Regions from separate parts of the Homo sapiens genome. Here regions 2, 3, 4, 5 and 6 are each linked to region 1. Evidence: promoter capture Hi-C in 16 types of primary human blood cells and fetal thymus (Javierre and others, 2016). All regions are on one chromosome and are shown on one strand. Each heading gives the region's core, a stretch centred on a gene start or on the middle of the fragment in contact. The rest is flanking DNA. Distances are from core to core; before and after follow the strand shown.

Region 1 (3,547 bases), core at 611-3,110:
CTTTTTTGCATTCCTTCTTCAGAAATAACCACATAGCATTATTATTTGTTTCTGTCTTTTCTGCTAAAATCAAAGGGGACAAATAATATATTGTCCAGGTCTGAATTGGAATGTGGTCTGTGGACTAGCATAGCATCACTTGGGAGTTTGTCAGAAATGCAAACTCTCAGCTTCCACCTCAGACCACCTGATTCATAATCAGCATTTTAACCAGCTTCCCCAGGAGATTCCCATGCACATTAAAGTTTGAGGAGCACTGGGCTAGATCCTACATTCACTCAACAAATATTTATTGAACCAGTGTAGGATACAGAGGTGCTTAACATAAACCTGAGCATATGGTGTGGAAAAAGAGCAAGCATAGACATTCCATTGTGACTGAGAAGCTCCTGCAAGTACCAAGAAGAGTATAACCTAGATGTTCTAGTAGAATAAATTATAGTTATGTCAAAATTCAGAAGTGGTCACTGCAGCTTGGTTGTGACAATCGGGAATCTGGAATCTGGGAACTTGACCCTCTTTACAGCAGGCAGGAAGAATACAGGGAGGTGTGAGTGTGTGTGAGTGTGTCTCTTCCCTGCCTCAGCCACAGGCCGCAGGAGCTGACAAGGCCAAGTCCCCGCCCCCCTCAGCTGTCACCCTGTCAAAACAAAGCCGCTGCTGACAGCGCAGGGCCAGCCTGCCCCGCGGCCTCGGGCAATCCTCCCACCTCGGGAACACAGCCTCCACATCTGGATCTGCAGCTGGAGGTGACAGGGTGCCTAAACTGGCATGGAGAGTGGGTAGCAAGAAATGGGTGTCCTCAAACTGAGCAGTAGCGCCCGCCGCGCTGGGCTGTCACTTTGCCAAATCCTGTTTACACCTCGAGCAGCTGGGACAGCGTTTTAACTAAACAAGTAATAATACAATAATGACAGGGCTGTCACCGCGCGCGGCAGTGCCTCCGCCCCCAGCCGAGGGCGCCAGGCACCACAAGACCCTCGCCTCGGACTCTGCCCACCTTCCCACCCCGCGCTTTCCTCCCCTTCGCTTTCCCAAAGCGCCAGGAGTCCGGGAGTCTTCTCCACCCCCACTCCTTGCACCCAGTTCCTCCCAGTGGGACACAGGAAGGGATCGATTGCAGAAGGGACCACTCAGTCCCCCAAAAGATTTTTCCTTGCCCCTGGGTCACCCGCCACATGGAGAGCACCGCTCCACTCCCGGGAAAGTGACTCCAGCGAGCTCCTACAGAGCAACAAAACCCCAAGGTAGCCCGGGAGCTCGGATGCCGAAGCTACTCCTTTCAAGCGGAAGGAATGAAGGGCTCTCCGTCTTAGTGATCCCCCTTCTTCAAACCCAGCAGGACTCTTATCCAAGAAGAAGCTAATTGGGCGCGGGCGACAAGAGCACTTCCGCGGTGCAGCGGCCCCAGGCGGGAGGCGAGAGGCAGGAGGCGGGAGGCGGAGGTGGAAGCGGGAGGGGGAGGGGGGTCCCGCGGGCTGGGCCCCTAGCACCCATCCGCGGTCCGAGAGCGGCGAGCGCGTACCTTGCAGGCGGAGTACACTCCGAGTTTCTCCAGTTTCTTGGCCCGCGGAGCGGAGCGTAGTTGCGCTTTCTTCACGGCGATTCGGGCCGAGCCACCGCCTCCCGGTCCTTCGGCCGTGCCCGCTGCAGCCACTGCCGTCGCCGGACCGCAGGCGCCCGAGCCCCCGGCGGCAGCGGCGCAGGGGGAGCCCTGCGGGGGCGCGGGCGGAAGCGCCGCAGGCTGCGGGGGCAGCGCCCCGGGCCCGGCCCCTGCCCCGGCTCCTGCCCCGCAGCCGCCCGGCCCGGCCCCGCCAGCCTCGGACATGCCGCCCCGGAGCACGGCAGGAGGCGCCGAGTGTCAGGCGCCGCCGCCGCCGCCAGGGTCTCCCTCTCGGGCTCTGGTAGTCGGGAGAGCGAGACCCTCCCCCCACGCCCTCCCGCCCCCTTCGCCCACCCCCCTCCCCGCCCCCGCCCTCCCCCTAGCGCGCCGCTCGCCCGGCTCGCTCTGGCCGGGCCCCGCGCGCTGATGGTGGTGGCGGCGGCGGCAGCGGCGGCAGCTGCTCCCCCAGGAGGGAGGGGACTAGCGGCTCCGCTGCCGCTGCCGCCGCCGCCACAGCACACGCCCTCCCTTGGTTCTCCTGCCCGGGACTCTGCTCCGCGCCCTGGCTGCGGACATGTTCCTCGGGACTGCGGACTAGGTGTGCGTGCCGGCGGCTGCCAGCCTCACGGTGTCTGCCAGCGCTGGGAGGCCCCCCACGGCCTCTTTTCCGCTGCCCGCGGGGTTTGCACCCCCCACCCCAGTGCTTCGACACCTACCGCTCGCCCGCCAGGGGGCGAGGCCAATCCCTGGGTGTGGGTGAGGGTGGGGACGAGGGTGGGGGTAGGGGCCTGGAGCCCAGGCACCTGCTGGCCACCTCCCCCCTCCGCGGCCCCCCATCCGACCCCCGCACGCCTGCACCAGTGGGAGGGGGCAGCCTCTCAATCATTTGTCCTTTCACTCTCTTCCACCCTGTCTCTGACAGAGAGACAACTTCCTCCACCCTAGCGGGAGCCAGAGGAAAAAAAATATATTTTTGAAAAGTACCCGTCCATGCTAATCTTTTTCTTTGTTGCTAATTCACCAAAATAAAGACGTGATGTTCTCCCTTTCTCTTTTTAAATACTTTCTGTCAAACTATTTTTTAATATAATTAACACTTTCTTCCCATAGCAATTTCTGGGTCAAATCTGCCGGAGGAGGGGAAAAAAACTTACTATTCTCTGTAATTTTTGTTTGAAAGTGCTGGTTGCTAAAAGAAAGATTGTCTAAAAAGCATTGTCAAAAACTATGCAGTGGAAAAAGTTTGAATACAAAAAGTTTGTTAACAGGATTCGTTTCTGGGTGGTGGTTCTATAACGTTACGTAGTTTTCAAAATTGTGCCACCGCGTGCGTATTAACCAGGAAAAAGATATAAGCATAATTCAAAAGAATAAATATCGATTTTGGCCTCAAACTTTAAAAAGAAAAAAAAAACCCTCAACTCAGTGTTTCCAACTCTTGTTGAAAACTGTTGTTTTCACTGTTGATGACTGTGGAGCATACAAGTCAGTGCTGCGTTTGAAAGTGGTGTACCGTTGATCGCCTTCTTAAGCAGGTTTTAAAAGCCCAGGGCTTTTTCTCAGGACCCTTCAGAAGTGCCCTACTTTTTGTTATATGCAATGTGGGTCATAATGTGCTTATTATCAGATTTTATGCATGCTGTATAGCTCTCAGGCCAGACGCTTTAAGGGGTGTGCTTTTCGTGGGAAACATTCCCCTTCTTCTTTTTCCAGATTCTCTGTGTTATTTTGACTTGTAATGCAGGTTAATATATAAACATTGGGAGGTGGGGGAGTTTGTAGATCTAAACAGTGATATTAGCTTAGACAGGGCAAAAGGCAATATTCTCTCCCAACTTGAGTCCAGTCTTGAGGGGATGAAATGGCAGATTCTTATCAGGTTCCATTCAGGACAATTAATTTCAGTGCTTCCTTTCTTAGCTTGACGTGCTTCACGTTACCAGT
Region 2 (3,547 bases), core at 295-2,794, 4.2 Mb after region 1:
CACAGACATGAGCTACTGCACCTGGCCGTATAGACTTTTTTTTCCTATTTTTTTCAGCAGCTATGAAAATGTACAAGGCATCTTCAAAAAGTTCATGGAAAATGCATATTATGAAAAAATATGCATGGATTTTAATTTTTCCTTTTTTTTTCTTTTTGAGACAGAGTCTTGCTCCATTGTCCAGGCTGGAGTGCCATCTTGGCTCACTGCAACTTCTGCCTCCCAGGCTGAAGTGATTCTTGTGCCTCAGCCACCCAAATTATTGGTATTACAGGCACGCACCACCACATCTGGCTAATTTTTGTATTTTTAGTAGAAACAGGCTTTGGCCACATTGGCCAGGCTGGTCTCAAATTCCTGGGCTCAAGTGATCCACCTGTCTTGGCCTCCCAAAGTGCTGGGATTACAGCCATGAGCCACTGTGTCTCGCTGGATTTCAATTTTTTTTCACCAACATAAACTTATATTAACTTGTTATAATGTATCTGAACAGGATACAGTTTGCAGCACTAAGAAGGATAAGACGTCAGTTTGAAAAGAGCCCGTATCAGAACAACATGAATTCTGTTAAAATTGAGGCAAGAACAAACCTCAAGTTTATGGTGAAGCTTGGGTGGAAGAATGGTGAAATCATTGATGCTTTATGAATAGTTTATGGGGACAATGCCCCCTGCCCCCCAAAATAAGCAGTTTACAAATGGATAACTCATTTGAAGAAGGGACAAGACGATGTCAAACATAAAGCCCACAGTGGCAGACCATCCACATCAATTTGTGAGGAAAATATCTTGTTTGTATCCTAATTGAAGAAGACTGACGATTAACCGCACAAACAAGAGCCAACACCACAGACATCTCAATTGGTTAAGCTTACATAATTCTGACTGAAAAATTAAAGTTGAGCAAACTTTCAACTCAATGGGTGCCCAAACCATTGGGCCCAGATCAGTTTCAGGCAAGAGAAAGGCTGTCAATAGAAATTTTAAACAAGTAGGGTCAAGACCCTAAAACACTCGTACACTTCTTCAAAGAATTCTAACAGATGAAACATGGCCTTACTATTATGATCCTGAAGACAAAGCACAATCAAAGCAATGGCTACCAACAGGTGGAAGGGTCCAGCCAAAGCAAAAGCAAATCAGTCAAGAACAAAGGTCTTGGCAACAGTCTTTTGGGATGTTCAAGAGATTTTGCTTGACTTTCTGGAGGGACAATGAATGATAACATCTGCTTATTATGAAAGTATTTTTGAGAAAGTTAGTAAAAGCTTTAGCAGGAAAATGTTCAATAAAGCTTCACTAGAGAGTCCTTCTCCAACATAATGCTCCTGCTCATTCCTCTCATCAAACAAAGGCAATTTTGTTAGGATTTTGATGGAAACCCGTTAGGCATCCACCTCATACTCCTAATTTGGCTCCTTCTGACTTATTTTTGTTTCCTAATCTTAACAATTCTTTAAAAGGCATGCATTTTTCTTCTGTTATTAACATTACATTATTACTGTAAAAAAGACTGCATTGACATGAATTCCCAGGACCCTCGGTTCTTTAAGGATGAACTAAATGGCTGGTATCATTGCTTATCATCTTGAACTTGACAAATCGTATGTTGAGAAATAAAGTTTATATTTCAATTTTAACCTTTAATTCTATTTCCCACAAACATTTGAAGTACCCTGTAATTGCTGTCATAATAATAATATAGTGTAATGGTCCTTCAGAGTTTTCCACAGCCTTTCATATCACTATCTTATCTGATGGTGTGAGATGAGTAGGCCAGGAAATGTTAAGCTTAGTTTTTTTATGAATGTTGAAACTGAGACACAGAGAAGTTAAATGGTGCTCATGGTGCAGAAGGGTGAGAACCCAGCTAGGTGTGAAGCATCATCTATAAGGAGAGCTCCATGCCTACTATAATGCAGATGGTACATCATAAAACATTTTCATTAATTACTGTTAATTAGAAAATTTCAAAAGAGTCCTGGAAAGTTTCATTAGCTTCAATCACAAAATCTATTAAAATGCATATTTAGTCCATAAATTCATACTCTCAAACACACTTACATTCTCCCAAAAAATCATCTTTGCCATGTTCCTAATCAGGTTCTCATTGTGTTTTTAAATTCTAGAAATTTAACCTAGAGGAGAGATTATTTGGTGGGAAGAGGAGGGCTATATTAATTCCTGGCTCAACATCCATAGTGCTTAACAGGCTTACTTATAAATGAGGGTAAATCCTAACACTCCTAGGCCAAGATAGAACACGACTGGATATGGCACATTGGTAATTATTTACAAAGCTAACTTGTAATCACAAAGTACTGTAGTAATATTATCACAACATCTTTGTTTTGGAGAACTCAAGTGCTTTCACGACATTAACTCATTCACCCTCACTGAACTGATAAGGAGGGGTTGGGTGACAAATAGTATCTCTATTTTATCTGCTGGAGTTGAAATAAAGGGTAAAGGAGCTACTGAAGAGAATGCAAAGCAAGAGCAGTTTGATTTCCTTTTTAGCCTCATTATGACGGTTAGATCACAGTTATGAGAATTCCTCCATTTTAAGTAGAAAATATCATGACGAGGGACATAATTTTAGGTAAGAAATTGTTTCAATGGAACCATAGCATGGATATCTCAAAGAATATTGGAAGGGTCGTACTATCAGTTAATCAGGTGTGTTTTTTTATCTTGCACTCTATTTTCTTTTTTTTTTTTTTTTTTGCGTGGCTAAATCTAAGTTTTTTGTTATAAGTGCAGCATTACAATAATCTGATAGTCCTGACGAAGATCTCCATTTCTCTAGACTGCCATTAGGCTCGAATCGATTCTCTAAAGTCCATCCCAAGAGACACAACTGATGTAGTGGGTAGAAGAGACTTTTAAAAACCGACCCTGACGTCACACGTTTGTGTTTTAACCATCTGCACCTTTTATAAACCAGAGGCTGGAGCCGCCCGGGCGGACAGACCCAGGCGCACAACAATCTTCTCCCACACGAGCCTGGAATGGCAACAGCGTGCGGCTGGCTAAGAAAGAAAAGCCGTTTCAGAGCTGCGGGGTGGCGTGGGGGTGTGTGTGGCAGGATGAGGGAGTCATTCCTCTTCTCCTCCATCCAAGGATGCTATTTATTAGAAATCCTGCACATCTTTTTTTTTGTTTGTTTAAGAAAATTGATTTCTCTCGAGTGGGAGGCAAAATGCTTCAGATGCGAAAGGGGTGGAGGCAGCAAGCCTGGCTGGGGAGCTTTCAAGGGAAAACCACACAGCTTAGCTTCGGATTGGGACTACGGGCAGAAAAACGATTGGGCGTCCACAACCTGTTCGGCTGCGAAGACGACGCCCTTCCGTCCAGAGTGCCAGCATCACCCCCGCCCCTCACCCGGTCTCGGCCTGCAGCCCCCGGGGAGGACAGCAGCGCCCCCCATTCCGTGACCACCTCTCATCCCACTCCTTGGCTCCCCACCCTCCCCAAACCCAGGGGCACATTCTCACGCTTTCTCCACGTGCAAGTCCGGCTCGCCCATCGCCACTCGCCGCAGCCCC
Region 3 (3,547 bases), core at 299-2,798, 3.9 Mb before region 1:
GCCCTGCCCAGACGAGAACACATCCTCAGGAATGTGCAATTTTAACAAGCTCTCCAAGCAATTATTTGCACATTGAAGTTTCAAAATGGCTACAATCAGTGAATTCAAACACAAATTGGCCCATAGTTTTAAAGATTGATGATTTCATCGATACAACCGCCAGAATATCATTAATACCCTGTGAATCCAAAGAGAAACCAACTTAACCTAGAAACCTAGCCAGTGTCATGTTACTGGATAAAACCATTGTGCTGTCTTTATATAACTTTAGAGATCTTAAGTCCACATTAAAAATTCCAGGTATTAGCACACTGCTACTTTTTCACAGATGTCTCCACTCACAATAGGACACTTTACAAAGACAAATATTCTTAGTCCTCAATGAAATTCCAAAGGAAGATCTCACAGCTATTTGTCTTCTCTAAAATAGTGTCTTAAGTACTAAATTCACATCTAACATCTCAGGAAAATAAAAGATAAGAAAGTGATGTTTTTCCTTGGAAGTAAGACTTTCCTAGGGCCCCCATTTTCAGTCATTTATGTTCACAAGATCTGCTGACTACCTTAGCTAAGAAATAAACTTTTAGAAATTAGAGCTGGCCGGGCACAGTGGCTCACGCCTGTAACCTCAGCACTTTGGGAGGCCGAGGCAGGCGGATCACCTGAGGTCGGGAGTCCAAGACCAGCCTGACCAACATGGAGAAACCCCATCTCTACTAAAAATACAAAATTAGCCAGGTGTGGTGGCGCATGCCTGTAATCCCAGCTCCTCAGGAGGCTGAGACAGGAGAATCACTTGAACCCGGGAGGCGGAGGTTGCGGTGAGCCGAGATGGCACCATTGCACTCCAGCCTGGGCAACAAGAGTGAAAACTCCATCTCAAAAAAAAAAAAAAAAAAAGAAAAAGAAAGAGAAAAGAAAAGAAATTAGAGCTATGCAGATGGCTTAAAAATTGGTTGCAAGCACTGACGGGGCAATGGACTGTATCGTAATTAATTAACCAAAAAACAATTTCCTTTGCAAAAGCTTCAATATCCAACCTAAAAGAAACTACTGGGCTATTATCAATCCAGCGAAGATCCAATTCCTGTCTTAAGAAAACAAGCATCTGTGCCAGGCACCAGAAAATCAAAGAAGACCCATCTAGAAGTAGCTGCATTCTCCTAGCAAGACCTTCAATATTGATTTAGTTGTCTTGGCATCTATTCTTGCTACTAGACACCCATCTATGAACCTGACTGATAGCAACCCAAATGGGTTAAATTTTAATTTCTTAGAAGAAAAGGAGTACATCTAGTAGTTCCTCAACCTAATGAAGAAAGGAAAGTGAAACTACAAGTCACCAAGTACCTACTGGATGTCAGGAATAAAATGACACAATTTCATCCTCACAAGAAGAACTCTGTGAATTAACTTTCATCAAATCATTTTTTAAACAAGGAGCTCAGAGAGGATAAGTCAGCCACTAAGTGGCAGGCCAAAGTTTAAAGTCAAGGTTGTCCAATTCCAGAGTACAAACTTATTTGGTGAGAAGACCTGAGCAAGCAAGTCACTTTCAATCTTTCTAAACCTGAGTGGTCTTCTATAAAATTGGAATATCTGCCACTTATTACAAGACTGAAATGAAATGGCATTCATAAGTGCTTTTTTCATACACTGTTTTTGATGATAAAGTAAGAAGAGTAAAAATCCCCAAACCAGCAAGTCCCAACACCTCCAAGAAACAGGCAGTATGTACCTCTTTGAAACCCTGAGCTAAAATTAGCTGAAGCAGTCTTCTCTATTTTCAGTTGAAAGGGACCCTGGACCTGGGCCAGGTTCCCAGGCTAGGGCTTACCCAGTGGTCAACTTCAGACAAGCCTTAAGTCAATATCCAATTTTGTACTGCTAGGAAGCACTGATATTCCTGCATATATTGGGGTCTTCTTACCCATTTTCTACACTTGTCCATCATCAAAACCCTCACACTTCCTCTGTCCACCATCCTGGAGATTATGTTTGACTTCAAGTCATGACTGTACTTTTCTGCCTTGTGACTTAGAACAAAACATTTTATCACCAAGAAGCTTTAGTTTCCCTCATTTTAAAAGTGTTATAAATAATTTCTACTCCAAGGGTGGTAGAGTAGATCTAACTGAAGCACTAAAATTCCAATTGTGTCCTAGGTGTCAGGGCTCCAGAGAACAGCATGGTCCTTTCCCTAAAATGCCTTATAGGCCAACTGGGGAAACACCTATGTTATTAGGAGCAATGTTTCACACACATGATTGTGACTGCTGAGGATCATACTAAAGAGGGCAGAAATCAATAGGGGCAAACACATCCAAGGTTGCAATATCTAAGTGGGGAATTGAAGACTGTTTAAATCATCAAAAGAGACATTTTTTAAATAGGGTGACACAAAAATAAATGGTGTGTTTTTTGTTGTTTTTTTTTTTCAGACGGAGTTTCGCTCTGTCACCCAGGATGGAGTGCAATGGTGTGATCTCGACTCACTGCCACCTCCGCCTCCTCGGTTCAAGCGATTCTCCTGCCTCAGTCTCCCAAGTAGCTGGGATTACAGGCACCCGCCACCACACCCGGCTAATTTTTGTATTTTTAGTAGAGACAGGGTTTCACATGTTAGCCAGGCTGGTCTCGAACTCCTGACCTCAGGTGATCTGCCCATCTCAGCCTCCCAGATTGCTAGGATTACAGGCATGAGCCACCATGCCCAGCCAAATCGGTCTTATTTTATAAAATAGACATTATTTTTATCTCCATGTAAATTACTGGAGAAGGGAGGTCAAGGTGTAATCTAATGTCTGGAAATAAGCCAGCATGACTAAAGAGAGGACTGATGAAACTGGGAGGCCCTGCAGATGACTATCCTTTTCCACTAGCTATAACCTACATATATCACTGCAAATTGAGTGGGGATCCATACACATGCAGTATCTCCTTCACCCTCAAGAAGACAGGACCACCAAGTTGCGTATAAATCTTCAAATATTATGCAGGCTAAAGTACATTATAGCACAGTAGTTAACAGTTTGTGTTCCCAAGTAAATTTTGTGGATTCAAATTCTGGCTCTACTACTTGCCTGAGTAAGTTATTTAGCTTCAATTTACTTAGCCCCGCATCATTAAGATGGTGGCAACGGCACCTTCCTTCATGGAATTAACATGAGGAACACATGTAAAAGGCCTGGCACAGAGTAAGAAGCTGATGATTATTTTTTTGTCATCATTATACTAGAAGAGTTCCAACAGAATGGTTCAAACCAAAGTAACTAATCCTCCCTACCCATTATTCACCTCATTTTTTAATGTGTGTTAAGGATCCAGTGGTTTCTTTGTAGGTTATTTCCACACTACCTTTTGAATCTCTTAACCCTACTGACCAGTAGAGCAACTTTTCTTCAATTCTTGCTTTTCCTTGCTCCAAGGAAAGATTTCTTTGCTCCACCTCTCCAATTTTTTTCCAAGTCTTTTACTCCACTGTTTTCACTTGTTACTCATGGGGCGAGGAGACATAGAGATGTCACGAAGGACAGTAAGATTACAG
Region 4 (3,547 bases), core at 565-3,064, 3.8 Mb after region 1:
TCACTGAGGAAGAAAAAGGGCTCCTCTTGCTCCAACAGGCAAAGACACCTTAGTGGTAAACAAGTAGTATACACAGAGTATTTGACCGGAAATCAGCGGAACTGGGCTCAGGTGTGACTCCTTCCTGCTTTCTAATCTTCAGCAAGTCTCCTCTTGCCATTTTAACATTACCCACGCCACCTCACTGGATTACTGAGAGGAATAAATAAAATGTCTACCAAAGTACCTGGCAAGCAACAGTGTTACTAAAATCAATCCTAATACATTGACCCCTTCTCTTCCTTGTCAAACAACCTAGAGAGGTGGAGGTTTGGTATTGCCAATAAACAACTCCTTCTGGCCTGATATACAACAGCACTCATCAAATATAGTTTGCATTATACAATTATGACCTACTTCTTTTTTTTTTTTTTTTTTTTTTTTGAGACAGCGTCTAGCTCTGTCGCCCAGGCTGGAGTGCAGTGGCGTGATCTCAGCTCACTGCAATCTCTGCCTTCCAGGTTCAAGAGATTCTCCTGCCTCAGCCTCCTGAGTGGCTGGGATTACAGGCACACCACCACACCTGGCTAATTTGTGTATTTTTTAGTAAAGACGGGGCTTCATCATGTTGGTCAGGCTGGTCTCGTATTCCTGACCTCGTGATCCGCCCTTTTAGGAATAAATGTAAAGTTTAGTAGTCATTGTAATGTTTTCTTCAAAAGTGCACAGGGATATATTATGTATATGTGTTACGTAAATGTAAACTAAATGTTATATATCATTGCTGAACCAAGTAAAGCTCATAATTTCCGTGCAAAAGTGGAACATTACATCTAAAAAGGATCTTATATCATCTCTACTCCAATCCTTTCTTAGAAGAGGAAATAAGGCCCAAAGAATGTAAATATCCAGTTGCCAGAGGTAATCAACAACTCAAGATTCCGATCCCAGATCTTCTCTCGAAAGTGCTTTTTCACTACAATGCATTTCTTCTCTACTAAGATATTAAAATGCCTAGTAATTAAGTAAGACCCAATGTAATCGGTTTTACCAAAACAGGCACTAGCACTGCTTTCAAGACAAAAATGCCTTTTATCTGCATTTCGCTTCAAGGCATACATAGGCCTCACACTGATAAACCTGCCTACTGACACCATTTCTTTCACAACGAAAAAACTGGTACTCACATAAGTAATTTGTTCCTGGGCTTTGGAGACAGACAAGCTCTTCATTATTTCCCAGGTGTATGATTTTAGTCAAGATGCCCAACTCTCTGTACCTCAGTTTAAAGATTAATAAAATGGAATAACATGTAAACTCCTAGAGTTGACAATTCCACTTAGTGCAATAGCTGGCACATAACTTCCCAATAATAAAAGGTGATGTTATTACTATTACTAAAAATCATCGTCGTTAATAATGTTATAAGCCTGGCAAACAGAAGACTAGAACTCAATCCCTGCCTTCCAGGGCTTGGTCCTTTCAGCAACACAATTTAGGGTATTTTAAGGCGTCTGGGGTGAGGAAGAAGCGGAATGTACCTGCAGCCAGGAATTAACAAGCTGACCGTCGCCCTGGGCTCAAGGTCACTCGGTGAAGCGAAATTCTACGGGAACTGTTCGTCCGTCACCAGGAAGGGAGGTCGAGGAGGCTAAGCTGCTCTCGCCTCCCCACCCCGCCTTTCCCGAGGGCCGGGAGGCTGCTACCTAGCACCTGCTGCAGCCTTCAGCGGGCTATTTAAGGCGTTAAAGCAGACGATAAGAAGCAGGGAAACTTTCCCCGCTGGCACCTAGCTTGCAGACCCGGCCACGTTTAGTTGCAGGCGCCTGGAATACTCCGCGGTCCCAGACGTGACGTAGCAGCGCGGGCGAGCCCCACATTCTATTGGTCGCTGCCGCCCAATAGGAGGAGCGGTGCGCGACCCCGCTGAGCAAGCTTTCAGTCTTCCCAGTGTCTCCGCCCCTAGTTCAGCCATCTCCATGGTGACCGCTACCGGTTATCCATTTGGCCGCGCAGGGCGGAGTTGCGTCATTGCCTATGCGCCGGAAGGGCTAGTCCTTGCCCGGCGCGACCTGATGATGCCGAGCCCAGGCCGGTTCCGGCGAAGTTAAACCCTCGGAGCTGGCCTCGGACTGCTGGGGCGTTACCCCTTCGGCCACCCCCGCTGACCATGGCAGTGTTTCATGACGAGGTGGAAATCGAGGACTTCCAATATGACGAGGACTCGGAGACGTATTTCTATCCCTGCCCATGTGGAGATAACTTCTCCATCACCAAGGTAACTTCAGGGTCCCGCCCGGCGGTTCACCCAAGCAAGCGCAGTTTGGTTCCGCCCGTTCCTTCCATCATTGGGTAGCCTTTGCTGCGCTGTGTCACCCACGCCCTCTTTCCCGTTGCTGAATCTTCCTCCTCCCGCGTCCCCCCACCCCAACTAATGCCCTGAGCTCTCTCGGTAGGCACGCAGTTCTGGCCTTAGATTAGGTCAGGGAGAGGGTGGCGGAGAGCCTCTGTCTCTCTGCCCGATCCCTGCCTTAGGGTCCCAACCTGGGATATTTCTGTCGAGGAGGGGACTCGTTTTTTGTTTCCCAGGGCTTTTGGGGCGACCGAAGCTCGCCTGACCTTCCTAGGTGTTTCCCCTAAGTGACGCTTCTAGGGGAAAATGATGTCGGCATTTCTCGCTGAAGGCCCTGGGGTTCTCACCCACCTTGGGGGGAAGGCAAGCCACCAAGAGACTTGCATCTAGGGGTGGGATAGGTTTGGGGGAGGAGATGGCGAAGAGAAGCTATCCTGACCACATGGTATTTGATTTCGTTGTAGGAAGATTTGGAGAATGGGGAAGACGTGGCAACGTGTCCTAGCTGCTCTCTCATTATAAAAGTGATTTATGACAAAGTAAGGGATATAATTTTAAAACGGGGGAAGGGTATTGTAAGTCAGTGGCAAGGACTTAGATCAGCTTGTCAGTGATGAGTGCAGGAGAATGTTTCATTGTGCTAGGTAAAGTGCGGTATTTTTTTAGGCAGGTTTTAAACACCATTGATAAACAGCCGAATAGTAAATTAAAACGTTTAAAGTTCAGATTACGTAATTTATTTTAGCTTTAGAGATAAATCTAGCTTTAGTGAAAATTATTATTTATTAAATAGAAAGTATATAGATTATTTTAGTGGACAATTTTTTATATTTCTCTTCTATTTAATATGTAATTAAAATTGTTTAGAGCTGCTAGACTTACTTTGAAGGGAACAATTGTATGGTATTTCGTGCTGGCTTATACACAGAATTCTGCATTATCTTGTTTGAGATATAATTCCTAGGTGCAGCTTTACAATTTCATTTTAGTCTTTAGTTGCCCTATTATCTTTCACCCAAGGATGTTGACAATAGAAAAAAAAAATGTTATTACTGCCCACTCCTACCCAAAGTTTTGTTCAGTACTTGGAATGGAATCTTAGGTAAGGACCTTAACACTCTCAAGGATGAAGTCCAAAATGAATATAGGGAAAGTGGGGATGAGGCACAGAGCCTCATGAGAGAAGCGGGCTATAATTTAGACTATAATTTAGAA
Region 5 (3,547 bases), core at 770-3,269, 3.8 Mb before region 1:
TTGAAAGGCAATTCATCTCCAGATAGGGTTTCTTTCCTCTCTAATAGGAAAGGCCCCAGTGATGATCTAATTCCCAACAGCCTGACCCTAGTATGGGTGCTGTTTTGATCGTGCTGAAACCCCAGTCTCCTGGTTGTCACAATTTTTCAACACTGCCTTTACATGCATAAAGGTATACACACTGCAATGGTGAAACTAAACATCATTCAGATGTTTAAGTCACACTTCTATCCTTAACGCATTTAGTAACATCAGATAAATGAAAGATGCTAAAAGGAAGAATACTTTTTAGCACATAAGATACAGGGTTTTATAAAGGATGACTTCTGCTGAACCTATTTCTTATACCCAAACAACCATTTAAAACATGCTGAACCTGGACGAGGTATGTAACACTCCACTGTTGCAAGAAAAGGATCTCTTTCCATTGTGAACCATGATGAGCAGCCTGGGACTTCTGAACTGACATCTCATTACCATTACCACCAATTCGAGGAGGTATTGGAATGCCAGAAAAACACAATGTAAATTCACAGAAACTACGTGGAAGTATACAAAGTGCTAACTTGGAGCATCTGTGTGCAAGGAGCAGGATCAGAAGAGGTCATCAGGACTATCTTTTGCCTTTTACTCCACAAACTTCTGTATTTGAATTTTTCAAAAACATGCATTCTTGTATAATATAATGGCTTAAAACTATTTAAAATATAGGCAGTGTTAGGGAAAAAAAAGCTATCAAAAGAAGGCTAAATGGAAATTCTGTCACATACAGAAAAACTAGTATCAGGGCCAGGCACCATGGCTCACGCCTGTAATCCCAGCACTCTGGAAGGGCAAAGTGGGTGGACGGCTTGAGGCCAGGAGTTTAAGATCAGCCTGGCCAATAGGTAAAACCTGGTCTCTACAAAAAAATACAAAAAATTAACCGAGTGTAGTGTCGAACGCCTGTAGTTCCTGCTACTTGGGGGCCTGAAGCAGGAGGACAGCTTAAGCCCAGGAGGTCAAGGCTGCAGTGAGCACCACTGCACTCCAGCCTGGGTGACAAAATGAGACCCTGTCTCAAAAAAAAAGTGAGAAAGAAAGAAATGTATTTTTATTATTCTCACCCATGCTTGAAGTGTTTAATGACTTTTCAGACATTTTATCCTAAAATAGCACCCCATCTGAATTTCTAGGTTAAGTCACTGAGACATTTACTCATGAAACAAATATATCCATTAAATAAAATCTGAAGTTTAAAGGACTTAGGCAAAATATGCCATTTAGTCTGTATAGACATACTGTCTACAGATATTCGTGTCTACAGGCTAGTTATAACTAGTCAATTTAGCAAAGTTTGAGCCCTGGGCTATAAATAACAGCTGCAAAACTGACTCTGGTGGCCCAGAGTTCATCAGCTATCTAAAAGGCATAATTTTACAATCTAAGATCTGGCACGCTTTAGGGAATCATTACAAAGTTAACATATTTTTTTCCCTAAAAGAATAGAGCTAAATGATATGGGAATAAAAGCCTAACCAAAATGAAGAGTGAGTTGGGAAACTATTTTGTGTGTGTGTGTATGCATATATATACACACACACACAAATCACAGATACTAAAATTAAGAATTTGATTTCTATGGCAACATAAAGCAGTTTGAAAATACTTACTTAAAATGACTTTGGACCAGGTCATTGAACACAATCTGTACTGTGTTCTAAAAAATATCCACCCAACATAATATACAACATTAAGAATTTAATTTTATGTTTTCATACATTATAACATATTGAGCAATTGCATTTCACATAAGTTTTGATGCTCAGTAACTTCAAATATTTTTGCCAAGTGCCAAAATTAGTGAACACAAACAGTGCACCTTCCTTCAAGAGGAGCAATTCTACTGATTTGCAATAATCAACTTTTTTTTTTGAGACAGGGTCTCACTCTGTCGCCCAGGCTGGAGTGCATCACCATGCCCGGCTAATTTTTGTATTTACTGAGAAGTTACTATGTGCCAAGTGCCATATTTTAATAACGTGTTTAAAACTACACACTGAATGCTGACTGAAGAAAGGAAGTATGGCAAAGGGTAAAAATATAAGACAGACTAATTGAAAACCAATTATTTAACTCATTCAAATCTCATGCTTTCATGCTGAGGGTAATTTTAAACATGTACGCACTTAATATATCACTTAATTCATAGATTTTCATTGGACGCTGACTTCAAAAAGTATCCCCAAGGCCAGGTGCAGTGGCTCACGCCCGTAACCCCAGCACTTTGGGAGGCCAAGGCGGGCAGATCACAAGGTCAGGAGTTCAAGACCTGCCTGGCCAACATGGTGAAACCCCATCTCTACCCAAAATACAAAAATTAGCTGGGCATGGTGGCACGTGCCTATAATCCCAGCTACTCAGGAGGCAGGAGAATTGCTTGAACCAGGACCCGGGAGGTGGAGGTTGCAATGAGCCGAAATCATGCCACTGCACTCCAGCCTGGGCTACAGAGCAAGACTCCGTCTCAAAAAGAAAATAAATAAATAAATAAATAAATAATCCATCTTTATCTCCAATAAAGTACATTAAAATACTAAATAATTAAATTCCAAAAGGTAACAGCACAAAACGTAAAACCGAACTCTTTTAAGAGAGCTGAATATTGGGACTACTATATAACATTAAGACAGCACCATTAGCCAACCAAAAGTAAAAATTTTAATTCACATTACTCAAACGGCCCCACTGGAAAATATCTTCAGAAAATAAAGTCATCTTTATTGTTAAAAGACAATGTAATATACATTCTCTTGCAAAATGAAGATGCCTCGTATTTTCTCTCAAATCAGAGATTTTTCTTAAAATTTAGTATTTTGAGCTTTGACTCCGTAACACCAATCACCCAACAGCCACCCAGTTTGGTGCATCCCCTGACCACAGGTAATTCCCAAACGTTTCACCTTGAAGGGGTAATTGGGAGGGTTTCCCAAAGATAAAAAAGTTCCACATGCCTCAGGAGCATAAATCTTTCACACATAAACTCAGTTAAAACGATGTGAAACTGAAGTGTACTTACACTGTTTTTTTTTTTTAAATGCTTAATCCCATGAAAATCTTCAAATGGTTTACAATTTTAGATTTGACTGTGCTTATTCACAAGAAAGCCATTATATGTTTTAATCAATGTTATTAATAACACACACATAGGAGACACACAATACCAAGCAGGAGCAATAACTAGACAGCACAGAACCACCTTGGGGAATGTACATGGATTCCACACAAACAACCAAGGGAAGCTACAGGCTTCCACGTGAACCACCACCATCAAAATAATGAGTTAGGCCTAAGTCTTATGGTTTTTCCACTTCTCAACCATCTTGAGAGATTATTAGCCAGGAAAGAATTCCCCAGAATGATTAAGTGTTCCAATTATAAACTATAGTTTAAGAGCATTTCAAACTCAAAATGACTTTCCTTACAAAACAGGACAAAGTTTCACGGAAGAGCATCCCACACCTAATCAACATTAAGAATGAATGTAACCAAAACGGCAATAGTTTTG
Region 6 (3,547 bases), core at 664-3,163, 3.7 Mb after region 1:
ACAACACATCTTTATCATCTGCATTTGTAGACAGTGTATTCACGGTGATTCTATGTTTAGGAATAGCCATCTGATTACTTCATTCTATCTTCCAGTTAGATCTGCCTAACCATTTATATTTTAAAATACATACTCTTTGATTATGGATCACTTTCTTTTATTTCTCCTTTGTATTAGTTAGAGAATTATGTTATTTAAAAAAAAACCTATGGGTACATTACATTAACTATGACTTTCATTTCAGGACAGTTCTAGAAAGGAGCATTGGATCTGACCGAGTTGGTAATCCCTTGTTTGGAAAAAAACCACTGATCTAGGAGTCAAAAGACTGAATTTTAATCATAGCCCCTATGAAATCCAGCAAGTCCCTTAAATTCTGAGCCTCATCTGCCACCCCTGGAAAATGGGTACCAGCACCTGCACTGCCCACCTCACAGGGTTGGTGTGAACATGAACTGACTCACAGTGGGTGGAACTCCCGAGTATCTGGCTCTACATAAGAAGGAATTTTGGTCATTGCAGCTGTCACAAAAGAAAAAGTGCTGGCAATACCAGCTTCCTTCTTCCCTGTCACTAAAAAACAGATTCTAGGAATAAAGAAACTTGTATTAAGAGCATAGGTTTCTCCCATTACACGTTCCTGGCATAAATCAACTAAATGAATGCCCTCCTAAGAAGTAATAACACATCGCGTGCTTTTTGAGAACCAAACCCTTAGCATTCACACCTTGGCACCTTGCATGTCAGGTGAGCAGTAGGTACTTCTGGACATGAATTTAATTTGGTCTCTGCAAGTTAAAGTTGAGTTAAATTTAGAGAAGATCTAAGAAAAATGAAAATTATTTGAATTCACAAAAACATGTCTTTTTTGGTAAAGAACTGTTAAATGAATGGATACTCTTTCAGGGGAAAAAATGTCTGAACCTCACTATTTTAAATATGTGGGAGATTTTTACATGAATGGTGATAAGTGGGTTTTCATTTTTGACAAAAGAAATTAGCAGCAAGGGAGCATTCAGTTAGGAATAACTAAAATCTAGGAACTGCTACAGTGGCTACCAAAGTGCTTTAAAATATTCTTTCCTTTCAAGTCTCAAAAATAGAATTTAAGATACAAGAGGCTCTGCCTAACGATGACAATGAATTTCATCTCCTATATCCTCCTTCCCTCCCTCTCTTGCTTGCCTGTGCAGTTCTCTCTTTATCTATAAGAATCAGAGTGAAAGAGACTGAAATAATTTTCTCCAGTGGCCATCTTTGGCATGCTTAGTAATGACAACAAAGAAAGCCTCTAGGTTATTGTTTTTAGAAACCAGAGTATTTTCAACTCTAAAGTTGGCAAGAAAATGTGCCCCAGGGAAAGATAATATTCAAGAAGCCTGTCTTATCCTTGACGACAAAATAATCTTCGGTAGGTCTGTATTCTGATTTGGTAGCATCCGGGAAGAATTAAAAGCCATCTTTGTCTTTTTGTTGATCAATAAAAACTGCGAGGGTAACACGAACACAAGACTCAAAGTACTGTACACTGTAATATGTAAGTGAATAAAAGGACATTACCTTCAATTACACAGCAATGTATCTAATTTTGGTATAGATTTTCTACTTGTGAAATAAACAACCTTTCCACAGCAACTGGAGCTGAGCACACAATAGCTGTCTAGAACCCTTTACCCTGCCAAGAGCTTGAGCCAAAGCAGATAAAATAAAGGAAGACGTTTATGGCACTTTATTCCATGTCTCAACGGTGCAGCCTGCTGCCACCCAGACACTCACGTGCCTCCATTGTCCACTCGAATGGCTTAATAAGACAAATCCTCAGGAGGAAAATAGCCACCTGAAAATGATTCCAAGAAAAATCTGACTTCATAAAGGCTGTTTGCAACTCCCACTGGGCAGAGTAGAGCAGGCACTACAATTAGGATGTGCATTCAGGCAATAACACTTTGAGATTTTCTACAGCCTGTAAGAATAAGTTTCTTCACTGAAATGCCAATGAGGCATGAAACCAAGCAGGAAGCTGTGGACCAGGACCAGGCCAGGTCGCGTGAGAAGCTAAGGATAACAGGGAGGATGGGGAGATGTTCATGGCACTAGGAACTGGGATGGCTATGCTTATTTCAACTCTGAGCAAGGGGCATGCAGATACCTCGTTGCTCTCACCCCAGCAGCATATTTTAGCACCTCTAGGAGCAACCTAGAGCCAGTAATGAGGGGAAAATCCAGAGACTCCAAAAAGCAATGAGGCAGCTGAGGCCACACTGACGGAGAGACTCAGAAGGTTGCAGGGTAAAAATGTGACAGGATACATTTACAATGGAAATGCCTACACAGGCATCTGGGGGTTATCCTGGACAGACACAACTTGACGTGTAAACCACAAGAATATATTATGTTGCTCCTGCACATTTTTAAAAACTTATTTTAAAAATTTCCTTAATAGAAATCTTTTTCTTTTGGTATACGGTTCTATGAATTTTAACACACATATAGATCTGGGTAACAATCATCAAAATCAAAACATATATTAGTTCCATCACCCCCTGAAAATATTCCCCTGTGCTATCGATCCTACCTTTACAGTAATCTCAACCCCAGTCAACCACTGGTTTCCCATCATTATATCTTTGTCTTCCAGAATGTGACAAAAATGGGATTTTACAGTATGTAACCTTTTGGGACTGCCTCCTTGCACTCAACAGAATGCCTCTGAGATTCACCCACATTGCTGCATGCATCAATAATTCATCTCTTTAATAGTCCCTTGTATGACTATATCACAAGTTATCCATTCACCTGCTGAGGGACATTTGGGTTGTTTCTAGAAGTTTTTAATAATTATGAATAGAACTGCTATAAATATTCATGTTATGCTTTTATATAAACATAGCCTTCATTTCTCTAAGACACTCAGAAGTGGTATTGCTGGGTCATATGTTAGGTGTATGTTTAACTTTATAGAAAACTGCTAAAATGCTTTCCAGATCGGCTGTACTATTTTGCATTCCCACTAGCAATATAAGCAATATATGAGAGTTCCAGTTGCTCCACATCCTTGCCAACGCTTGGTATTGTCAATATTTTTAATTTTAGACATTAGACTAGATCGTAGTGGCATCCCACCACATATGGTTTTAATTTACATTTCCCTCAGGGTTAACGATGTTTCAATACCTTTCATTGCTTATTTGCCATCATCATATCCTTTTTTACTGAAGTGTCTGTTCAATCCTTTGTCCATTTAAAAAAATCATGTTGCTTGTTTCTTTTTGTTGACTTTTGAGATTTCTTTATATATTCTAGATTCAAGCCCTTTGTTAGATATCTGATTTGTAAATATTTTCTCCTAGTCTGTAGCTTGTTTTTAAATTGTGTTAAATGCCTTTTGTAGAAAAAGTTTTACTTTTGACCATGTCCTATCATCAACCTTTTTTTTGATGGATCTTGCTTTTGGTATTGTGTTTAAGAATTTTACCTACCCTCAAGTTCCAAATATCCCATTTTCTTCTAGAACTTTTATAGTACCATGTTTTACATTTAGATCTAC

Evidence for each region. The method cuts DNA at HindIII sites, captures the fragments that hold promoters and counts their contacts. A CHiCAGO score of 5 or more calls a contact.
Region 2: a fragment that was not itself captured here is called in contact with the fragment with the promoter of KAT2B in region 1 in 1 of 17 cell types (non-activated CD4 T cells); the score reaches 5.2 in non-activated CD4 T cells.
Region 3: a fragment that was not itself captured here is called in contact with the fragment with the promoter of KAT2B in region 1 in 6 of 17 cell types (total CD8 T cells, naive CD8 T cells, monocytes and 3 more); the score reaches 9.1 in total CD8 T cells.
Region 4: a contact is called between the fragment with the promoter of OXNAD1 here and the fragment with the promoter of KAT2B in region 1, in 1 of 17 cell types (fetal thymus). The highest score is 7.0, in fetal thymus.
Region 5: a contact is called between a fragment that was not itself captured here and the fragment with the promoter of KAT2B in region 1, in 1 of 17 cell types (non-activated CD4 T cells). The highest score is 5.4, in non-activated CD4 T cells.
Region 6: a contact is called between a fragment that was not itself captured here and the fragment with the promoter of KAT2B in region 1, in 1 of 17 cell types (fetal thymus). The highest score is 6.2, in fetal thymus.

What each region holds. Positions count from the first base shown.
Region 1 is chr3:20,038,759-20,042,305 of GRCh38, reverse strand. KAT2B (lysine acetyltransferase 2B) reads right to left here and starts at 1,860. Exons shown (of 18, transcript NM_003884.5): 1 at 1,526-1,860. The coding sequence starts at 1,828. RefSeq lists enhancers at 359-548, 1,265-2,235 and silencers at 1,399-1,458, 1,659-1,788, 1,959-2,598. The HindIII fragment of the contact is 5,734 bases long and covers 1-3,547 here.
Region 2 is chr3:15,860,215-15,863,761 of GRCh38, reverse strand. It overlaps LOC107986064 (a long non-coding RNA gene), which reads right to left. Exons shown (of 10, transcript XR_007095831.1): 1 at 3,497-3,547. Among named protein-coding and RNA genes, the nearest start is that of MIR563, 12 kb to the left of the region's middle. The HindIII fragment of the contact is 497 bases long and covers 1,296-1,792 here.
Region 3 is chr3:23,948,256-23,951,802 of GRCh38, reverse strand. All of the region lies in intron 1 of NR1D2 (nuclear receptor subfamily 1 group D member 2), which reads right to left. Among named protein-coding and RNA genes, the nearest start is that of NR1D2, 4.7 kb to the right of the region's middle. RefSeq lists a silencer at 2,771-3,065. The HindIII fragment of the contact is 1,040 bases long and covers 1,029-2,068 here.
Region 4 is chr3:16,263,479-16,267,025 of GRCh38, reverse strand. OXNAD1 (oxidoreductase NAD binding domain containing 1) reads right to left here and starts at 1,814. Exons shown (of 9, transcript NM_138381.5): 1 at 1,521-1,814. DPH3 (diphthamide biosynthesis 3) reads left to right here and starts at 2,083. Exons shown (of 3, transcript NM_206831.3): 1 at 2,083-2,257; 2 at 2,797-2,871. The coding sequence starts at 2,150. RefSeq lists an enhancer at 1,942-2,251. The HindIII fragment of the contact is 2,642 bases long and covers 1-1,916 here.
Region 5 is chr3:23,812,522-23,816,068 of GRCh38, reverse strand. All of the region lies in intron 3 of UBE2E1 (ubiquitin conjugating enzyme E2 E1), which reads right to left. Among named protein-coding and RNA genes, the nearest start is that of UBE2E1-AS1, 7.4 kb to the right of the region's middle. The HindIII fragment of the contact is 7,557 bases long and covers 1-3,547 here.
Region 6 is chr3:16,296,862-16,300,408 of GRCh38, reverse strand. All of the region lies in intron 6 of OXNAD1 (oxidoreductase NAD binding domain containing 1), which reads right to left. LOC107986065 (a long non-coding RNA gene) reads left to right here. Exons shown (of 2, transcript XR_001740608.2): 2 at 245-3,547. Among named protein-coding and RNA genes, the nearest start is that of OXNAD1, 33 kb to the right of the region's middle. The HindIII fragment of the contact is 7,562 bases long and covers 1-3,547 here.